4 separate regions of the Homo sapiens genome follow, and all the other regions are linked to region 2. The links are contacts of gene promoters, found by promoter capture Hi-C in blood cells and fetal thymus (Javierre and others, 2016). All regions are on one chromosome and are shown on one strand. The core of a region is centred on a gene start or on the middle of the fragment in contact, and the rest is flanking DNA. Distances in the headings are between cores, read along the strand shown.

What was found. Contacts are between HindIII fragments. The CHiCAGO score rates a contact against its expected background, and 5 or more counts as called.
Region 1: a contact is called between a fragment that was not itself captured here and the fragment with the promoter of PTH in region 2, in 1 of 17 cell types (endothelial precursors). The highest score is 5.6, in endothelial precursors.
Region 3: a contact is called between a fragment that was not itself captured here and the fragment with the promoter of PTH in region 2, in 1 of 17 cell types (endothelial precursors). The highest score is 5.9, in endothelial precursors.
Region 4: a fragment that was not itself captured here is called in contact with the fragment with the promoter of PTH in region 2 in 2 of 17 cell types (neutrophils and total CD4 T cells); the score reaches 6.9 in neutrophils.

Annotation. Positions count from the first base shown.
Region 1 is chr11:14,226,140-14,231,127 of GRCh38, reverse strand. The region is part of intron 6 of SPON1 (spondin 1); the gene reads right to left. Among named protein-coding and RNA genes, the nearest start is that of RRAS2, 130 kb to the left of the region's middle. RefSeq lists silencers at 116-334, 891-1,185 and enhancers at 8-594, 595-1,182. The HindIII fragment of the contact is 2,867 bases long and covers 2,111-4,977 here.
Region 2 is chr11:13,493,085-13,497,936 of GRCh38, reverse strand. PTH (parathyroid hormone) reads left to right here and starts at 1,940. Exons shown (of 3, transcript NM_000315.4): 1 at 1,940-2,026. RefSeq lists an enhancer at 1,545-1,566 and promoters at 1,781-1,943, 936-1,995, 1,257-2,007. The HindIII fragment of the contact is 1,846 bases long and covers 1,385-3,230 here.
Region 3 is chr11:14,190,965-14,196,352 of GRCh38, reverse strand. The region is part of intron 6 of SPON1 (spondin 1); the gene reads right to left. Among named protein-coding and RNA genes, the nearest start is that of RRAS2, 170 kb to the left of the region's middle. The HindIII fragment of the contact is 6,401 bases long and covers 1-5,310 here.
Region 4 is chr11:14,260,830-14,266,293 of GRCh38, reverse strand. It overlaps SPON1 (spondin 1), which reads right to left. Exons shown (of 16, transcript NM_006108.4): 15 at 3,319-3,582; 16 at 1-770. The coding sequence ends at 607. Among named protein-coding and RNA genes, the nearest start is that of RRAS2, 96 kb to the left of the region's middle. The HindIII fragment of the contact is 7,755 bases long and covers 1-5,464 here.

The DNA of each region.
Region 1 (4,988 bases), core at 2,295-4,794, 730 kb before region 2:
AAGAAAAAAAGTGGCGGCTGGGCACAGTGGCTCATGCCTGTAATCCCAGCACTTTGGAAGGCTAAGGCAAGAAGACTGCTTGAATCCAAGAATTCGAGACCAGCCTGGGCAACAGAGTGAGACTTCATCTCTACAAATAATACAAATAAAACATAAAAAATAAATTAGCTGGGTGTGGTGGCACATGCCTGTAGTCCCAGCTACTCAGCTACTCAGGAGGCTGAGGTGGGAGGATCGCTTGAGCTCAGGAAGTCAAGGCTGCAGTGAGCTGTGATTGTGCCACTGCACCCTAGTCTGGGTGACAGAGTGAGACCCTGTCTCACCACCACCACGAAAAAATGAAGGAAGGAAGGAAGGAAGGAAAGAGAGAGAGAAAGAAAAATGGAAAGTAAAAAGAAAAGGTCGCATCCAAGCCTGTTTCCCAGGGTTTTCTCAACTGGTTAGTCATGAAGGCTTTTGAGGTGGGCACTGTGTGAGGCTGACCCTGCCTGTGGAGGAGAGTAGGGCGGACCTCTAGACCCAATGGGCTTGAAGCCAAGGCAGCGGCTGGGAAGGTGGGCAGGGGGACAGAGCGCCATGGCAGGGGTAGAATTCATAAGATAGCTGATGAGTTCTTCACTTGACAATTTTAAAGAGTGTTAGGCTTTGTTAGGCAAGGAGTATCTTTAAAGTAACGGCAGTTTCAAAAGAAATGAGAATTCATCCACACACCAATATCTCCTTCTCCTTCTCTTTCTTTACTTAGAAATGTCTGACGCAGGTGTTATTCTGGCAGCCTAGTTTGCTGGGTCTTTAAATGTAATAACATTTCACTTCATCATCTCCCTTTATCAACTGATTTCCATAAAAAGCTTTCAAATTATTAAGTAATGAAGCTCCAAGTGACCCGAATGGGGGAGAAGTAAGTGTGCTTTAAGGTGTTCAGCACATTAGTATCAAATAAGGATCCTGGGAATGCTGCTTTCTTAAATGCGGCTATTTAAATGCAAAGTAACAGCTCTCCTAAGCTGTGAAAGGTTAACCCTTTTCATTCTCGAGTACCCCACATATTTGAGGTTTGGGGAGAGACTTGGGAGATGACAGGAGAAATTTTGTGTTGTGGCAGACACTAAAGGGTGTCCGTTCTAGGAATTTGAGAACACACACACACACACACACACACACACACACACACACGGACACACAGACAGACAGACAGACACACACACACAGGCTGGCCTCTCTTCCAGGTTTCCCATGGTAACAGAAGTTTCTCTGACTGTGAAAACGCTCTTTTAGTTATTTTCGTGGCTCACGGAGCAGGAATTGAAGAGCGGTATGGTGGAATAGGCAGACCGAGGGTTCAGCTCTTGGCTTGGTCACTTATATGCTGCGCAAGTTTGGGGAAAGTGCTGTCCTCTCTGAACCTGACTCTTTGTCTGTAAAACACATGTTAATGAGCTCCTTTCTGGGTCGGACACTGTGCTGGGCTCCCGTCACAGGGCAGTAGACCAGACAGACTGCCCTTGTGGAGCTTGTTCCCTACTGGGTTAATCACAGTGCATGGAGGTTAAATGAGACGGTATCAGTCAGGGCCAGGTGAATAGTAATGAAGGGGGTGCCTCTGATGACTTAATCATACTGGCAGGCTCTCCACTCCGCTTCTGTCAGTGCGACCTCTCACTACTGCCTGACCCACCTTTTGACCAAATCTCCTACATCACCTGTCATGCCCACGCACCAAAGGCTCATGCTTTTGCATTGGATCCTTCTGTCTGGAATGCTCCTGCCCTTGTCCCCTCAAGCCACTCCTCTTCTGAAAAGGCTTACTGATGACCCAAGACTCTCAGATCCTCTTTGTCCATGATTATTTGTTCACTCGTATAAAGGTATCTTCCCCACCAGGTGTCTAGCAAAGTACCCACGTCATAGTATGTGCCTGATCAAATATGTTGAATGAATGTTCAATCAAGTTTTTATTCCCAAATATTACATGTGAATTGTGAGAGGATCTGTCCATCATGATTACTGCCACCCAAAGAAGTATTCGTAAAACTTTGTGATTGTCACACCACGGAGATATCACAGGTATATGCAGCAATTCCCAGCAGAGGTAACTGGGGTGGAAGCTTCCTAACCTTCCTCTTTCTTGGAGTAGGTTCTGAAGACCTCTAGGGGCCTGTAAATATGTTGTTAGAGTCTTCTTAGTTCTCTGTGGGAATTTAAACATTTATATTTATATTTTTGTGAGAATAAAATAATAGATTGTGTACATATTAAGGATCATCTCAAAGATCTAGTCAAGCATCACCAGGCAGTTCAGTGGCTGGGATGCATTTGTTTTCACATCTCACGGTTGCCCTATACAACTTTATTGTGCGTTAGTGTGGAAGACAATGTGACGCTCTGTCCAGATCTCTCTTCAGGAGTGAAGGACTTACTTCCCAGCTGCAGGGATGATGGTAAAAGGTTGCTCTTAGCTGTCAGTTCTTTGGCATTGGCTAGATAACACAGCCTAATGTGAGGTCAAACTTCCTTCCAGGGTGACCCTCATCCAGTGATCCTCCAGGGGCACAAAGGTCAGTGCTCTTGTCCCCAAGGCAGGACAACTCTGAAGAGCCACCCAGCCCAGTGAGTTGGTTGGTAGAGGTCTTTGTTGGGCCTGCGACACAGCTCAACTTCTCCCTCTGCACATCCTGCTTCCTTCCCCTGCCTCCCACAGCTGTGGTTCCCAAGAACATTCTTTGGTAACTTCCTGCACTCTAATCTTGATGCAGGTCTCCTTCCCAGAGAACCCAGCTGCTAAAGAGAGTGGGTTCTAAAAGGAAAGCAGAGTTAACAAATCAAAGACATTTTGACTAGGTAAAGCCCAAAGGATACGTGTGCTGCTGCCTGAACAATGTGTTGTCAGTGGTTGGAAGAACAGTGGGAGAACTGAGTTAGCCCAAAGGGCCCTGGTGTATGCATACCAAACTCGGAAGGACCCAGGCTACGAGGGTCAGCATTGCATCGAGATTGTGAGCAGTCATTTAATTTCAGCAAAACAGCATCACCCATCACATTAAAGCAATGTTCTTAATTAGCATTTAAAGTGTTTGCAGTTTTATTTGTGTTATTATTAGTATCACTATTTTGTTTTTATCATCTTAAGAGAGCTATAAGCATAAGGAGTTCATATCTGGTTATCTTTGCACATATTTAAATAATATGATAATGAAAATCCTTATAACTCAACCTTGGGTGTTTGTGAGCTTGTATTTGCCCTTTAAAAGAGATCTATACATTACGCAGGTTTGGGAATTATTTAATTTTGCAAAAGCATGGTATTAAGAGGCTGGGTTTTGGAGGGTCTGTGGCTTAACTGTGTAACCCTGGGAATGTTACTTAACTCTTTGAGCCTTGATTTTCTCATTGGTAAAATGGGGATAATAATCTACCTTACAGGCCTGTTCCAAGGTACAAATGAGCTGTAAATAAATGTAGAATGATTTCAAAGTTTCTGACACATATTAAGTGCTCAATAAATGGCAGTAGTTAGGAGAGGCCGAACAATAAAGAATGCACCTCTCTGTAAGCCCTTTCCAAGCCTGGCCTGGAAAAAGTCAGTGGTCTGCATCCATCCCTGACAGAGAGCAGGAGGAGGGGTTTTGGGTGAGTTATTTTCAATAGAAAGTCAGAGTTAAATTTGCTTAAAAGCCAGCCAGCAAGCAAGCAAACAAATACTAAGGCCTCAAGGCACACAAAAGTGAAAGGTTAAAATAGAAAACTGTGAAGAGCTATGGCCTAAATTTAAATTCAGGGAATCTTACATTTAGGGACCACTTAATAAATGAAATAAAGCTGGGTGTAGTGGCTTGTGCCTGAAGTCCCTGCTATTTGGGAGGCTGAGTAGATGGATCACTTGAGGCCAGGAGATTGAGACCAGCCTGGGCAACATAGTGACACTGCGTCTCTACAAAAATAACTAAATAATAACTAAATAAATGAATGAAACGAATATTGCCATGGTAAGCTGAGTAACGGCCCCCCAAAATATCTACATCCTGATCCCTGGATCCTGTGAATGCTTCATTATATGTCCACAAAGGCCTTGCAGATATTGTTAATGATCTTGAGATGGGGAGATTGTCCTGGATTATCAGGGTAGGCCCTAAATATAAGTGTCTTTACAAGACAGAGGCACAGGGAGATTTGACTAAAGGAGAGGGGAAGGTACTGTGATAATGGAAGCAGAGATTGGAATGATGTGGCCACAAGCCAAGGAAGACTGGCAGCCACTGACTGTGCAATGGAGCCTCCCGAAGGAACCAGCGCTGCTTGTATCTTGACTTCAGCCCTGTAAGACTCATTTTGGACTTCTAACCTCCAGAACTGTAAGAGAACCAATTTGTGTTACCCCAAGGCACCAGATTTGTGGGTAATTTGTTACAACAGCAACAGGAATGGATATAATTCCTATGGGCCCTGCTTGCCTTTTTGATTAGTGAGTCTAATGAAAATAAAAGGCAGACAGTCCCTGACTTAAGATAGTTTGGCTTAACAATTTTTTGACTTTATGATGATGTGAAAGCTATATGCATTCAGTAAAAATTGTACGTCGAATTTTGACCTTTTCTGAGGCTAGCAATTTGTGATATGATACTCTTGTGGTGCTGGACAGCAACAGTGAACCACAGCTCCCAGTCAACCACTCGATCACAAGGGTAAACAACCGATACTGTACAGTGTACTGTGTTGCCAGCATTTTTTGGATATTGTATTTTGTGTTTTCACATCCCATTATGTTTTAAAAAATGTCAGTTTTCCACTTAGGATATTTTCAGCTTCCAGTGGGTTCACTGGGAAGTAACCCCATGGTGGGTAAAGAGGCATCTGTAACTAAAACCTGTCATTAGAAGGGAGCAGTGTAAAGGGCATTCCTATTCAAGTCCGAAGAGCTTGATCTGAATCCTCTCTCTCTACTTCCTAGCTGTGTGATCTCAGGCCAGTCAGTAAGCTTCTATGAGCCT
Region 2 (4,852 bases), core at 691-3,190:
CCATACCACTGCACCACTCCAGTCTGAGTGACAGAGTGAGATCCTATCTCAAAGAAAAAAGAAAAACCATCTGTATTTCCAATTCTTCTTCTCAACAGAGTATAGCAGAAAAATGACACACAAACATCACATGTAGAGTTTGCATCAGAAGAGGTCTTTAAAAAGATCAAGACAACAGATTTTTACAGTTAAAAGAGACCTCTTGGTTATCTAGTTCAACTTTCTTCTATGTATGAATCTCTATAGTATGCCTGATAAATGCTCATCTACCTTCTACTTGAATATTCTCAGTGATGGAGAAATCACTATTTGAGAAGGTACTTGATTCCTTATTTTGACAATTATAATGTCCAAGTTAAACCCAATGAACCCAGCCCTTCCTTCTTAAACCACAGAGAATACTCCTTCTTCCTTATGGTAACCCTATAAATAATTAAACACAGCTATAAAGTCATCCCGTCTTTTTTTCCTCAGACTTTTCTAGTTTCATTCAACTACTTCTCATGTTATAGTTTTCAACATTTTCACCAAACTGATTGATATCCTCAGTGTATGTTCCCATTTGTTTCTACTGCTTCTAAAATGGAGCCTGGAGCAACACTCTAAGTGAGGTTAACCCAGAGTGGAGAATCTCCTAGGACAGGACTAGTATATATCTCTCATTATAAACTCCATACGGTTACTATTCAAATTTGTACTGGCTCTTACCTAAGGTAGAGTCAAACCTTGACAATGGCTAGTAGGAAAAAGGATGACATGAAGCCAGGATGGGACCAGAGCTGAGAGAACTGATCCCACTCTGGCACCGGATCTTTGGTGGGAAGGCAAAGCTGTCTAAAGGAGTCCTAGATATATCAAAGACATTCAGGGTGTTTTGACAGGTGGACCAGGAAAATATTGCTGGAGGAATATTTGAAGTCAGACATGTGGCAGCATCATGCCTCCAATAGGTTTTGGAGCAGGCTCTCATCATCCCTTAGGGAACATGAGAATAAAGACCTAACCCCTAGGGGAAAATGTTGCAAAGAGCTTTTGCTGTGTTTTCAGATGACTTTGCAAATTAAAGTCAAGAAGACTGGAGTTCAAAGAAGGGCTGTATTTCTAGGCAGAAACTGAGGTAGTAAGAATCTGGTGTCATAAAGACCTTTGTTGAATTCCATCTTTTCTGCTTTCCAAGCCTAAGTTTCCTCATGTAAAAATGGGGATAAGCACTTAACTTTAGTACTTTAAGTACTAACTTTAAAGGACTGCTGTGAAGATCTAGTGGGATAATATATGTAGTTAGGCATGCAGTTAGTGCTTATCAAATGTTATTATTATAGATTAAGATGCACAAATAAAATATAAGTTAAATAAATTTTAAAATAATTTCACTTTTGAAGCTTTTAAAGTAATTATGTACTAAGAGCATTTTCTCAAATTATTCTTAACACTTCCTTTAAGAAAAGGGCTATATCTGTTTTTTGAAAGATGACCAGAAGTGACATGGATTGGTTGAAAATGGCTTGTAAAGTAAGCCTAACATTTATGATTTATTACCATAAAAACTGTACCAACAGTACGGTTATAACAAATACACTTATTTTTGGGTTTTATTTTCAAGTAAGATAATGACTTTATCATAAACCTTTGAAATCAGTCTTTTTACAGTATAAATTCAGATTCATTAATCCACATAGAATTTTTCTCGATGGTATAATTCTGTATTTGTTAAAAGTCTTTGCATAAGCCCCTTGTCAAGCCAAATGCTGTTTTCCTTTTAGTATCCAATTATCTGAAACTTAAGAAGAGTGTGCACCGCCCAATGGGTGTGTGTATGTGCTGCTTTGAACCTATAGTTGAGATCCAGAGAATTGGGAGTGACATCATCTGTAACAATAAAAGAGCCTCTCTTGGTAAGCAGAAGACCTATATATAAAAGTCACCATTTAAGGGGTCTGCAGTCCAATTCATCAGTTGTCTTTAGTTTACTCAGCATCAGCTACTAACATACCTGAACGAAGATCTTGTTCTAAGACATTGTATGGTAAGTAAACTTAAAAATTCACTTCTGAATCTCATGAGATTTTGATAATCAAGTTATTATTTAATGTGTACCATTTCTACAAATACCATGTTGTTTCTTCAAGGTAAAATGCTAAGAAGTTTGAGTTATGTTTAATATAAAATGCCACATACAAAATAAATTAATGCTACTCAAATCACAAAATCCTTTTTGATTAAAGTCTTCTGAGATACCTTGCCTTTTAAAACCTCATCTGAAATTACAACAAAAAATCATTAAAATTTGGCATGCTATGCTTTAATATAATAGTATCGGTGTCAAAATTTTGAAATAAAACAGGTTGATGGTGAATGAATAGTTCTGATTTAAATAATCTTTATAAATTTATTAAGTGGAGTTAATATTCTGTTTTTCCTGCAGAGTATTCTTATCTAGATTATTTATTTTATGGCTCATAAAGAGCCCAATCTGTATACTAAAGTTGGATAAGCCCAGTTTGACTAGTAAATATTTATTTCCTTTACATAAATGACAGCTGTATTCTGAAAACAGTATTTCCTATGCTATTTCTAAATGATGCAGTTTCCCTGTAAAATAGGAGTACATAACTACTCTATGTGTATGTTAAAAGGTAGTACACTGAGCATTAAGGAAAAGCACTTCTATAATAACAGCCTTTGCAAGTACTGAAATGCAGATTAAGGCAAGAATATCCTATACTGATGTGAAACGAGGAAAGAGACAAAAGTTATATTAAAAGATAATTGTTAATAAAATAAGTTGAAGAAATAAGCTACAAACAAGCATTCCATTCAGAGATAAAGCTCGAAATCCATATCACAAGTAATTAATCAGATGATTTTTAAATGCTTTGACACATTATTTTTAATGCTAGGAGAAATGTGAATTAATTTAGTGAAAATCTCTAGATTAGCACCTATTAGTTTGGTATTTATGGTTATTACAATGCCTGAAATGAAGGTTACTTAAGAAAAGGATTTGCTACGTAAATAGTGTTAACAATTTACACTATGAAGAAAATTAGGCATTTTCAAGCAAGTTATAAACATTTAGGTATAATCAACATAAAATGCAGTGCGGGGGGATTTCTCAAAAATAGGCTCTTTCATTCCTCTTGTAGCTTAAGATTTCTGCAGTGTGACAGAAGGGAGCATGAGAAGCATGGCTCACCAGCCAGCCTCTATTGTCTATGTAATTAGAAGCTTCAGAACTCACTAATACCACTGTACCTTTCACTGGCGCATTACCCCATAAAACTTGAGATGAGGTGAGATCTGAGTATAAAGATAGGTCAGAAGTATTTTAAAGGGCTTAATTTGCCAAAAAGAAAAGTAAAAAGCTAGAGACCCTTTTTGCAGAACATTTGGTGACCACACATTTGAGGGAAGATGTGGCATTAGATGAAGCAGAAGCAAACCCTGCTCTTAGGGGCTCATCTAGGTGAGTGCACAGCCTGTGACACTACAGGGAGAGGCTCAGTAAACTGAGATCCAGCATTCTGTATGACAGAGGCATTGCTTATCACAGAGGTTCTGAATTTTAAGTAGGAAGTACATAATGAAGAGGGCTTTAAAAATTGCTAAGAAAGCGAGTCACCAGGGCTGGCAGTAGTGTAACAGGGCCATCCTGAGCTGTTAGGAGAGTAGATGCAGGGAGGGCTGGTGACCTCCGTGGGTTTATCTGTTGGAGACTCTTCTCTCCAAATCCCAGGCCTGGCTTCCAGCACCATCCAGCTGTGCCCAAGAAGCCACGCTGGTCTGTTCTCCAAGTCTTTTAAATGGTGCCTAATTTTTCTAAGTGAGCTTAGCAATGAGAAGAAAAAAAAAACATGAATTATTTTTCTGGAAAATCAAGGAGACATGGGTAACAACAGGCACTAATAAATATTTATAGATGAGTGAATGAGGAAATAATTACATAAAAAAGGTCAGTGACAATTGATAAATGACAAGGAAATATTTAATTAGGTAAAAGTAAACCATTGCTCTCTATACTAGGATAGACTTTATCTACTTCGTCTTTTCCTAAGTCAGCATGTTAATTCTGGGGGAGGATCATAAGAAAGGAAATACTTTTTTAAAAAAAATTTAAAAACATGTAACAAAGCAAGGGTAAAATATATGTATATACATAAGTGGTATGACTGTAAAACTGTACTTTCCATTAGTTATTAGCTGAGTTAAGAGAATGATCACGTTGAAGTACTGTGTGGACTAGAAATGTACTCTGTCATCATGCAATGAAATGTTGCTAACATTTTAACATAGCTCATTTATGCAGAATGAATTCTGGCAGTTTACCCCAAGTCACAGTTAGGACGGTAGATGGTGAGATCGCAGATGCGTGATTATCTAGATTCAGTGTTACATTTTTGATGTTTATCACTCAGTGGATTTTTATTAATATGCTGATTAAGTTATTTACTTGGCCAGTCATTGTGCTAAATAGTTGCTCTTTTGTGTTTCATTGCCTTGATGTTTGAGTGTAATCTAGCATTTTAATACAGTGTTTATTTTGCATGATCTTTAACAAATGTTTTAAGCAATTTTAAAAAGGCAGGATGTTATTGACATTATACATTGAAGTCTTAACATTTTAATATTTATAGTGCTTATTAGTTTGCAAAATTGTATAATTAGGAATTATTTCAGAGACAATGTTTTCTTTTTCAGGTGAGTAGTTGCCGCTTAATATCATTGGAGTACATTCTTTATACTGTTTGTGAAATTAATACTAGCATATTAAGTGTACAAATAGATTTAGAAAACAATAAAAAATTGCATTCTAAAAAAATAAATAAAAATAAATAAATAAATAAATAAATAA
Region 3 (5,388 bases), core at 861-3,360, 700 kb before region 2:
CCATACTCGTTAGTTGTCACTCCCCATCTTCCCTCCCATCCACAAGCCTAGGCAACCACTAATCTACTTTCTGTTTCTGTAGATTTCTCTATGCTGGACGTTTCCATGCACCTGTTCTATATCAGGCCTAAGGCCAGGAGAAGGGAGCTATAGCCACCCCCATCTTCTCTCCCCCTGAGAAGCTCTGGTATTAGAGGACACATCGCCTATCCTTCATGGGCTTCAATTTTTTTTCTCCTATAAAATGAAAGGGATGGAATTTGGACTCCCTTCTACTTTAAAGACTCTACTTTAAAATTTAGTCCTAGAGAAAATCATGAGGCAAATGGTGGATAGCTGGGGAAACAGGAATTTTCAACTGCTCTTATTAGAAACAGAAAATGTTTCTAGAGGCACATGGTAGTATGTATTAAAAGCACTAAGAATGTATACACCCTCAGACCCAGAAATTTCACTTCTAGGATGATCCTTAGGTATTCATTAAGGATGGTTGCAAAGTTATATGTACATAGCTAATCATGACAATGTTGCTATGAAACTGTGAAATAAATGTCTGACAATAGAGGCTGTGACTCCCAAATCCACTCCCCACCAACAGAGCCCCAGTTAAGAACCCTGCTTCCAGACTATGCCTTGTAGGACTGTCCATCCTCAAATTGGCCTTTCTGCAGCCTCTGCATGCCATGAACTCTGAGTTCACTGCCCACTAAAACCTGCAAACTATTTTTATTCCCAATACTGTTATTTGATCTTGTAATTGTGCTGTTGCTTCCAGGCCCAAGTATAGGACCTGACATTTCACCCTCAAGTCTCAAGTATTATGCTCATGGGCATAATTTGACCGGCACTGTAAGAATTCCATGGTATTACAGTGTTTCTGATTGTGGCATTATGTTGTATTGTGTTTAATAATTCCAGCTTTTGTCCTTTGATTCCAGGCCTTTTCCAATCATTTTTGTCTTTGCCATTAATATCCCACACCCTTTCAATGTATAAATAACTTCTACTTTGCCAGAGAGCTGAAAGCCTGACACTTTTATTGCAAGGTATCTTTGAGCTTATTTATGATCAAATGGATATGACTTCATGAAGGGCTTTGCACACCAGATTGATCAGAGGCAGCCATTTTCTGAACTCTGCATAGCATTTAATAGAAGTGTAATTTAGAAGTTGAAAAGAAAACATGCTATTTTTGAGATTTTTAAGAGGGCAGAGTATGTACTTTTGAAAAAGACATTCTTTCTGGCTACTTAGTAATTACATGTGGTAAGGGTGCTAAATCGAACATTATGTAGAGTAAGCACCATTCCACCCCACTTGCTCACCACTAAAGACGTTTCAATATTTCAGTGACTTCAACCAACAAAGATTATCATGTAAACATTTCACGTAGACTGCCCCCTCTAGCATTTTCAAGAATTTACCCATGCTTTCCTTTCTTTGTCATTCATTAAAGGTAGAATAAATATTTACTTTAGGTTTACCTTTAAATTTAGGATTTCCTCCTACAATAAACATATTAATAAAATAAATTTTAAAAATATTTCCTAACCTGGAATAATTGTGCAAGCCAGTGTTTTACCCTAAAATCATTTTTAGAAGAATCCCTTTACTTGCAGTTTGATAACAACTAATTTATTCTGTAGCTAATTCAATTACTTTGTAATTAGCTTACCAGAGCAGGAAAGAAGACAAAATAAATGTCTTTGTGATTGGTCCCTTGTAATGAAATAGATGAGCGAGTGTAAATACACACTTTTATTGTACCAGCCACGCAGGCAGTCCGTGTGTGTGTGTGTGTGTGTGTGTGTGTGTGTGTGTGTGAAGTAGGCCTAGATTCCCATTAGTTCTTTCCCACTGTTTCTTAGCATTCTCCCACTTGAGGGTTTTCTGTGGATGTTTCACCACTGAAATTTATCCTTGAGCTTTGAGCTGACCCAGTGGCTGGCATTTGCCATTCAAGTTGGAGTTGCTAATGAAGTTCAGTTTGTATTTGCTGTTTAGGGAGCTGAAGGAAATGGAGGACTGGCAGATTATTCAATTCCATGCCCATAGGTGTATGCTGTGTAAGGACTCAGAGGAAGAGGAATCTAGAGCTTTTGTCAAGTACCCTAAATATTGACTCTCGCACACCAATGGGAAGATTTAATAGGCATATTTTACCTCACCAGTGAGGGATGAGTGGAAAGACAAAAACCTAGGAAGGGTGAAGTTTTATCCTGAACCAAAAGGGCTAGAACCACTGGCCTGTGCTGGGCACAGGATGAGGAGCCTCTGGCAGTCCCAGTGGATCTGAAGATATTTCTAAAACGTGTTCCTTGGGCAAGCTGTGCAGCAGCTCAGCTTCACCAGGGGCTCAGCAGGGGTCCTTCTGTAAACTGCTGCCTTTCAGAGGCACTTCTGAGAGTATCACAGCCCTTGGTGAGCTCCTCAGGGAAGCAGCATACTCTGAAAGCCATGAGTGGCCACCACTGTCAAAAGGCTCTGTGGGAATCCTCTGTAATGGCTGTGTGATGGGCAAGGTCTCACCGTGTGGCCCTGCCATGAGCCCTCCTGGATGTCAGAGGAGAGAGTATAGACTGTCTGAGAGGCATGTGTTAGCTGACTGGATTCCCCAGCTAGCACTGCCTCAGGGATTCCAGGCAATACCCGAGCTTTGAAGGCAGAGTCTCAGCTCTGCTTGTCTGAGGAGGGCCAGAGAGGGAAAAGGCAGAGCCTCAGAAGACTGGACACTAAAGGAGACCCTCTTCCCCAAGCATCCCACAAAGTGACATTGAATGTGAGTTCACTTAAAATGCACTTTAAGGTCACATAAAGTGAAACCAATGACCACCCCTGTTACCTTTGTGACAAGCAGAGCTCACCATCCTCAAAAACCTTGGAGCAAGATGATATTTATATATATGTGTGCATACGTTTACCACAACTCCTCCTGGGCGTTATACACCTTCACAAGCTGTCAGTGATGAGGTTCGGCATGGGGTACCTTCAAGATTGGGGTGGCGTGGCAGTGCGAGTGAGGCTTGGGTCCTCTCTGGAGGGAGAACTGTTCTGATCATCTCCCAGGCCTTCCTGCCAACACTTCCTGGTTCTGATCTTAGAATCTCAGGACCATCCTGCTTTTACCCTGTTTCTCACCACACTTGCTGCTGACACTGCTTTTCCTCCATGCGTGTGGCCTTGGCACCATTGAAATAATTTTCCAGTGCCTGATCTCAACTGTGTCCAATATTTGGCTTCATCATTTACATTTTGGAGCAAATACATCAGAGACTTGCTCTGCTGGTGCACGAGTTTAGACTGTCTTTTCTGTGTTGTAATTTATCCGTCTTTTGCATAGGAGCTGCATGCATTCTGCTCTGGTTTCTTCAAATGCACACAGCAAGTTGGTGGGAAACACCAGTTTGGATGCCTGCACTCTACCCCGAGAATTCCTCTAGAAATGTCCATTTGAATGCTCTTCACTCACCAGCATCTCTGGTTTGGTTCTTTACCTTGGTTGTACATTTTCATTTTATTCCTCAGTTTGGACTATATTGGACTAGAATTTGATGTTCTCCCCCGGGCACAACTTCCTGTCCCACCTCTTTCCAGACGTTGCATCCTGTGATGGGGGCGGGGGGTGGGGCACCTCACTCCTAAGCCTTGTCTTTGTCCTGGCCTTACCAGGTCTGTTTTTTTGCCTGATTTCAGTCAGGGGTATGTGTGGCTTGGAGGAGGGTGTACCGTGAGGGAGGGCATTTGGACAATAGTCTGACAAACAGCTCACTGTCACCCTTTCTGCTTAAATTCACCTTTTGTACCCCTGTAAGAGATTGATCCATCTCTACGCACATTGACGGGGCAGCTTCAGAAATCCTTTTTCTACTTCTCTTTCTATATTTAGAGACAGGCAAATATATCTCTACTTTTATGCATAATAAATTCTTTAAAATGTCAAAGCTACAAATGACTTATTCATTTATTCAACAAATATTTATGGAGCATCTATTATGTGCAAGGCACTGAGGACATAACAGTGAATGACAGACATACCCTAGCAGAGTGCCAAGTAGGAGAAGACTTCATTTTCAGTAATCCTAATATATATATATATATATATATATCCCTAATGATACCTTGTCTTTTAGCCATAAGTTGTTACCAATATTTTTAACATTTCACACATATTTTAAAATTTTGTTTTCCTTCAGAATTGAACACATGGTTGACTGGTGTAACCCAATGACTATCCAGGGCTAATGTTATTCTGTTTTCAGGATGCCTCATAATTTTCTTTATTTTCTGAAGTATATTATGAGTTTATAAAACCCACGCTTCTGATTACTTTTGTTCTTTTGGTTGATCATTCTTACTACTAAACTGATAAGGGCAAAATACAATAAAATCCTCAATTATACAAACATGGCTGTAAAAACTTCATGGCTGGCTGGCATTTGGTGTTTGAAAGGCAGTGTAGAGGGGTCAATGTTTAATGTATGAAAGTAAAGATTATTTGAAAGTTGAATACATGAAAATACAGGACTCCTTGGATTCTGACTGTCTCTTGTCTGACCATTACAGCTTTCATAATCAGCATAATTTTGGCAGAAAGTAGATTTCCAGCTGTTTCAAGTCACAGATGTATTCTTTTCTGGGCTGTTCTAAAAATATGCACAGGCTGTTTTCTTAACTTTTAAATCACAATTCTCTTGATGGGTTTTTGCTTTCATTTGGGATCCTTTGGCCCAGGACTGTGTGCAACAGTGAACTGCATGCAAACTTACTCTGGAAGGAATTTTCTAGAGCCAGGAAGTCAGAGTCCGTGCTGTCTACTCCTTTCACTCATTGTTTCACAGTGTGCGGGTCCTGAACGTTCATGAAGAACAAAATGTGCCTGCCTGTTTTAAGTGTGTGGGGAAGGAAGAAGGAAACAACTCTACATTTAAGGAGTTCTACTTGAGAGGAGGTGGGACTGGAAGATCTGTGGGAGAGGCAGAAAGCTCAGCACAAGGTTATAAATTAAGGGGAGAGTTTAAACTGTGAAGGCATCATCCTTTGTATATAACATAACCTACGAGTGCTTCCTAGGCAGAGACTAGTTCTCATTGGTCCACCTTCCATCACTGCCGTGGCCAGTTGGGGCAGGCATTGGATTCCCTGCCCCAGGCCACCAGAGGCAGCAGCGGACTCAGAGAGGGTAGGATGAGCAATGTATTTTTTAAATGATGTGGTTTAAAATAACATTTCACTCTTCTTTTGAGGAACTTCACAAAGTATTCAAGGCTAAAAGACTTGAGGTCTAAGTGTAAATGGGCTTCTAAATAAGCTTTAGAACAATGCTCTTTTTTATTCTTTATATACCAAGTGATGGGATTGTAAGTGCTTTTTTCTTTTTTGTTTTCAGCA
Region 4 (5,464 bases), core at 2,526-5,025, 770 kb before region 2:
GGGGTGAGACAAATGTATTCCGAATTTCTCAGTGAAAGAACAAAAGCCACCCAACATCAATGCTCCTCTTCAAGTCTACCAGCTCTGTTTTTCCCCAGGAACTATTGATGACTGAGGAGACTTGAAAAGAGACCTAAAGTTCCACTAAGAAGAGATGGGCAAACAATGGTTTCATTGAACAGGCCAAAGATGAGAATGTGGGGAATCTGCTGTCTTCATCTGTGAATGTTTCCTACCTGCCGCACCCTGGGACTCAGGCATAGTCACTTCCAGACATGGTTGCCTCTCCATGTGGAGTAGGTCAAAGTCTCCGTCCTCCCTGGCCAGGTGGAAGCTCCAGAGGGACATGTTTCAGCTTAGTACAAGGTGGCTGACACTACTCCTCTGCAGGAAGAGGCTGGCTGGAGGTGAGGGCGCCCCACTCAGCCTGTACCCATCAAGAAGTATTCAGAAAGGATGTCTCTGGCATCCACAAGACTACTGGGCGAACCACACTGCAAAAATGAAAACTAGCGTACACAATTTAAATTGTCTTAAACAAGCAAATAATCCAGCCATTGGTGACTCTGGAATCTAGAGTGCAGCCCTGGGGAACTCGTACCCTTGCTAACAAGGATGAACATTGCATGCTCTGATCTCCTTCTTGTCTTTGCAGCTGGTAAACTGGGAGCTTTTGAATCTCTTCTTTACAGTCATGTAACGTTCCTGAATTCCACCTCCGCACAGTTTGGTGCATTCTGACCAGGCCGTCCATGGGCGCATCCTACAACCTGAAAGCATGAGAATGCCTTGTTAGGCCCGCAGAAACGGGACGGAACAGGGATGCTGAACTCTAGTAGAACTGTGAAATGTGCTTGTCTGGGCTCCTCCTCTGCTCAAGTATGTAATGATTGGTTAGAGTCGTTATTAGGGACAGTTAGGTCGTATGTGACTGACTGCAAAAAAATGGCCACAAATGCTTCACGGTTCTTCTCATCAAAAGGCAGACTCTGTTTCTCCACCTCTTGAATCTGGGCTTGACTACATGATTTGCCATGGCCAATGGGACATGAGCAAAAACAGGCCTAAAAGCTGCTAGGACCCTTCTACTACCATGTAAGCAAGCCTGGCTAGACCACTGGAGAGACCATGTGCAGAGAAGCCCCAGCCATCTCATGAGGCCCCAGATACGCAGGTGAGGCTGGTCTGGTCCAATTGTGCCACCAGCTAGTAGTAGCCACATGAATGAGTCCAAACTAGACCCAAGAAGAACCATCCAGTGGACCCAGTTCACATCACTGATCCACAGAATCTTGCTAAGTGATTGTTTAAAAAGACTGTTTTGGGATGGCTTATGCAGCAGCCATATAAGGAACACTAAACCACTTTCTCTTATGCCTTACTCCCCAAGTACTTGGCTCCCAAATGCTAAGTATAGAGAAGTACAATTTTTGTTCTTCCTACTCAGCATAAACATGCTGCTCTCCAAGAAAACTTCCCTGACCCCAGAGATTAATTAGGTTAGATCTTTTGATTACTGCTTCCATAGCACTCTAGATTCCTCTTTTATAGAACCCACCACATTTATGGTTACACATGAGATATTTGTTAACCACACTACAGCTAAGAGTCATGGAGGAATGTACCGTACAACTATGTACCTGCCACATAGTAGGCTTTAATGAATGTTTGTTGACTGGCTGACTACCATGTAGAACAGACAGCACTTTGATATGCAAACAGCTCCCTAATCATAAGGATCCTGAACCATCAAGGAGATCCTCATGCTTCAAAAAGAATAGGCCTTTAAAAATCAGAAAACTTGATGTACATGTTAATCTTCACTTTTTTACATGGGCACCTTCAGCACTGAAGTCCCTGGCAGGCATTTTCTTTTTCTTCTGAAGTCCTGGAACTCTGAAGTTAAGCTGGAGTTTGGGGATGTATAATCTTTCTCTTGGGTTACAAATAAAACCTATCTGGCCTCTGTGTCTGTTTGCCATCCCCAAATCAGTCAACACAGGTCTGATACAGTCACCCTCTTGCTTAAAACCACCTACAGAATCAGGTCCCAAAATCCTTGGTGGGCCACTGGCCTTGTGTGGTCTGGTCCCTGCCTTCCCAGCCTGGTTTCCTGCCTGCCTTGTCCTCTGTGCTTCATCTGCATCCCATTTATCACTTGGACCTATCACTTGGACCTATCATGGTCTTTGGCATCTCTGTGCCTTTGTAATGACTATTCTTGCTGCCTGGAATGTACTTTTCTTTTTTTTTTTTTTTAATTTGAGACGGAGTTTCACTCTTGTTGCCCAGACTGGAGTGCAATGGTGTGCTCTTGGCTCACTGCAACCTCTGCCTCCCCAGTTCAAGTGATTCTCCTGCTTCAGCCTCCTGAGTAGCTGGGATTACAGGTGTGCGCCACCATGCCCGGCTAATTTTTGTACTTTTAGTAGAGATGGGGTTTCACCATATTGGCCAGGCTGGTCTCAAACTCCTGACCTCAAGTGATTGGCCTGCCTTGGCCTACCAAGGTGCTGGGATTACAGGCATGAGCCACCGTGCCCGGCCTGGAATGTACTTTTCTAAGTGGCAAACTCCTCTAGATTTTTCAAGACCCACTCTAGTTTTCCCTGCTCTGACATCTCCCTGAACTCCAGTCAATGTAAGATGATGCTCATTCCTCAGCTCCCTGAGCACTTGGTGCATTGTTCTATTAGTTATTTGTCAGCTTGGATCAATATTATTTGGGGAAATAAAACTCAAGGCTGACATGACACTGCTGATAAACTTCTGGTTAGCCTTGCAAAAAAAAATCATAAAGTCTCAGGCCACGGCTGCCTTGTCTGAGCCACACCCTTAAAATGGAAGATGATGTGTTCTGGGAGGTTCTCAGGAACATTCCCTAAATGATGAACAAGACAAGACTCCTTTGACACATCTGTATCATTTTCCCTCTTTGCAAGGAGTGAATGGTGTTGCTAAGTCATAACTGACTTTGAGCAAAGTTGGACACATTATTGGTTTTATATGTGTGTAAAGAAGGAACTGTAATTCCTAAAGATTCTTTGCTTGAAAATTTATTTTTGGCAGGTAATTAGGTTATCTAAATGTTCTTTGATAAATGACCCCCACCGCCAATCTCCTTTATAAATTATGCTTGCTCAATATTTGGGAACAAACTTGGATCTAAAGAATCAAAATGTGGCCTGAAGACTCCAGAAGATGCAGACTCTCCCCGACTTTTTTTTTTTTTTTTTTTTTAAACAGGTCCAAGACTTAGCCCAGTGCAGAACCCTGCCTGTCCTGGAGACCACCCAGGCTGACACTTGGGAGCCATACCTGGGAACTGCTCCCCTTCAGACTCTTCCTTCAGCTGCTCACTCCGCCGGCTCTCTCGGGCCTCCCTCCAGCGTAGCTTTTGGATGGATGGATTTCGAAGGCATTTTCGGATGCGGCACTTTTTTCGCTGCACAGTCTCTGGGCAGGGTGCACCTCCAAACTGAGGCTCCATTTGGATCATCCGGGTTCGAATCACGTGGCCTTTCCCACATGACTTGTTACATTCCGACCACTGGGACCACTCGGTGAGCTCACAGTCAATGGCTGGCAAGACACAGATGGGCATGAGTGTATCACATGTCTGAAACAAGATATGGTCACGCTCTCCTTTGAACATCTCAACAAGCCTATGAGGGATGCAAAGCAGGTGCTGTGTCATGCTATTTTACAGAAGAAGAAACTGAGGCTCCAAAGAGGCAGGCTGACTTCAGCCCGTGTGGTTGGTAAGCAGCAGAGGCAGGATTGGTGCCAGGTCATCACCCATTCTATGCTCCCTCTATGACTCAAGAAGGCTTTGGAGGACTTTCAGGATGTGTTCAGAGCCTCTTGCCCTGCTCTGTGAACTAGAATATTGTCAGATCAGCCTCAAGTACAGAATAGCTTCCCACAGTCCCAAACTCACTGGTGATATTTTTCAGAGCAAGGCCAGCAAGCCCCCTGCTGCTCTTTGGAGAGAACAAGTCAACAAGCTAAAGGCGGCTGACCCTTGTGGACCAATACCAAGGACATTGTGGTTCTAACACACCCTGGCAGCTTTTCATTCTCAACATCATCCTGTGTTCTATATATGGTGGTCTATGCAAAAAACACAGGAGCCAGAAATGGGACATTCAGTAGAGAAGAGGGTCAGGAGCAAGTGGTGCTTTATGGTTTATCGAGATCCAGTAAATTCTTACTAAGCCAGCATCTCATAAATGTGAAAGGAAAATAACACATCAGTTTGACTGTCAGGATGTGTCCCAGGGAGGTAAATTATTCCAAGCTCTCTGTTGGTCTTGCAAGGCCAAAGTCAGGGTGGTGGACTTAGATGTCCTCATTTAGTTCAACAGTTTCAGTTCTTTTATCCCGCCTGTGGAAGCTCAGGCAGCTTTCTTATCTGCAAAATGGGGATCATGGTATTTTTTTTTTCATTAGGTTGTAAGGATTAAATGAGATGCTCCCAGCCCTGTAAGTGCTCCATAAATTTTCATTTTCTTCTCCCTTACTTCAGTGGACCCCAGGCACTCTAAGTCAGAAGGCTATGGGGCCCCAACTCTGGTGAGCTGGCCTGAACCATGGGCCAATCTTAGTTACTGAAAACCCCAGGCTTTCTCTAGTGGGTGGTCCAAGTTACCTCCACCCATGGCTGAGTCTCCTAAAACAACCCAGGAGCTGGAGCATGGAGCAGGGATTAAGTAAGGCCTATCCTTGCCATGTCCAGTGCTCATACTTTGGACCAATTACTTGGTTTCATCCTCAGAGCAACCTAGGAAGTATTTCCTGCTATTTTACAGATGGAGAAACTGAGGAACAGAGGTGCTGAGTCATCGGCTGAAGGTTACTAGCTAGGGGAGGGAGGATGAACGACTGCAAGTACATGCTGGAGGGGGCCAGAGCCACAGCCAGTGTGCCTGCCCTTTTACCACCCAAAAAAGCAGCTCTTGGAAGACCAGCCAAGGAAACTGGCTTGCTCTGCTTGGAGATTAGTCCCATGTAATATAAACAGCTGATCGCAGAGACTTTGGAAAACAGGACTGGGAGTGGAGCGGGGTGGGGTGAGTTTTTGAGAACTTGGCTTGTTTTCTTGCTGGTTTTCTTACCAGTCTGCAGGAGTCATTGATTTAATGTCCAGCCTCTGGTCATGGGGAATTAAAATGGTCACAGGGAAAATAGAATTAAAATGCTTGGAAAATCCATGGGTCAGGCAAGCCTATAATTGTTGGGGGAGAGGAGGGAAAGAACTAAGGTTTATTGAGCTTTGTGCTGTTTTTCGTATGTGTCTGTCATTTAGACTTCACAGGAACCTTAACTTTGGGTGTTCTGTAGACGGTAGTGGGATTCTCACTTTATTAATGAAACTGACTGCAGTGTTTAAGTAACTGCAAACACTGAAAGCCAAACCCCAAACTCTTCCCCAGCAAACCATGTTATTCTAGGATCTAGCAGT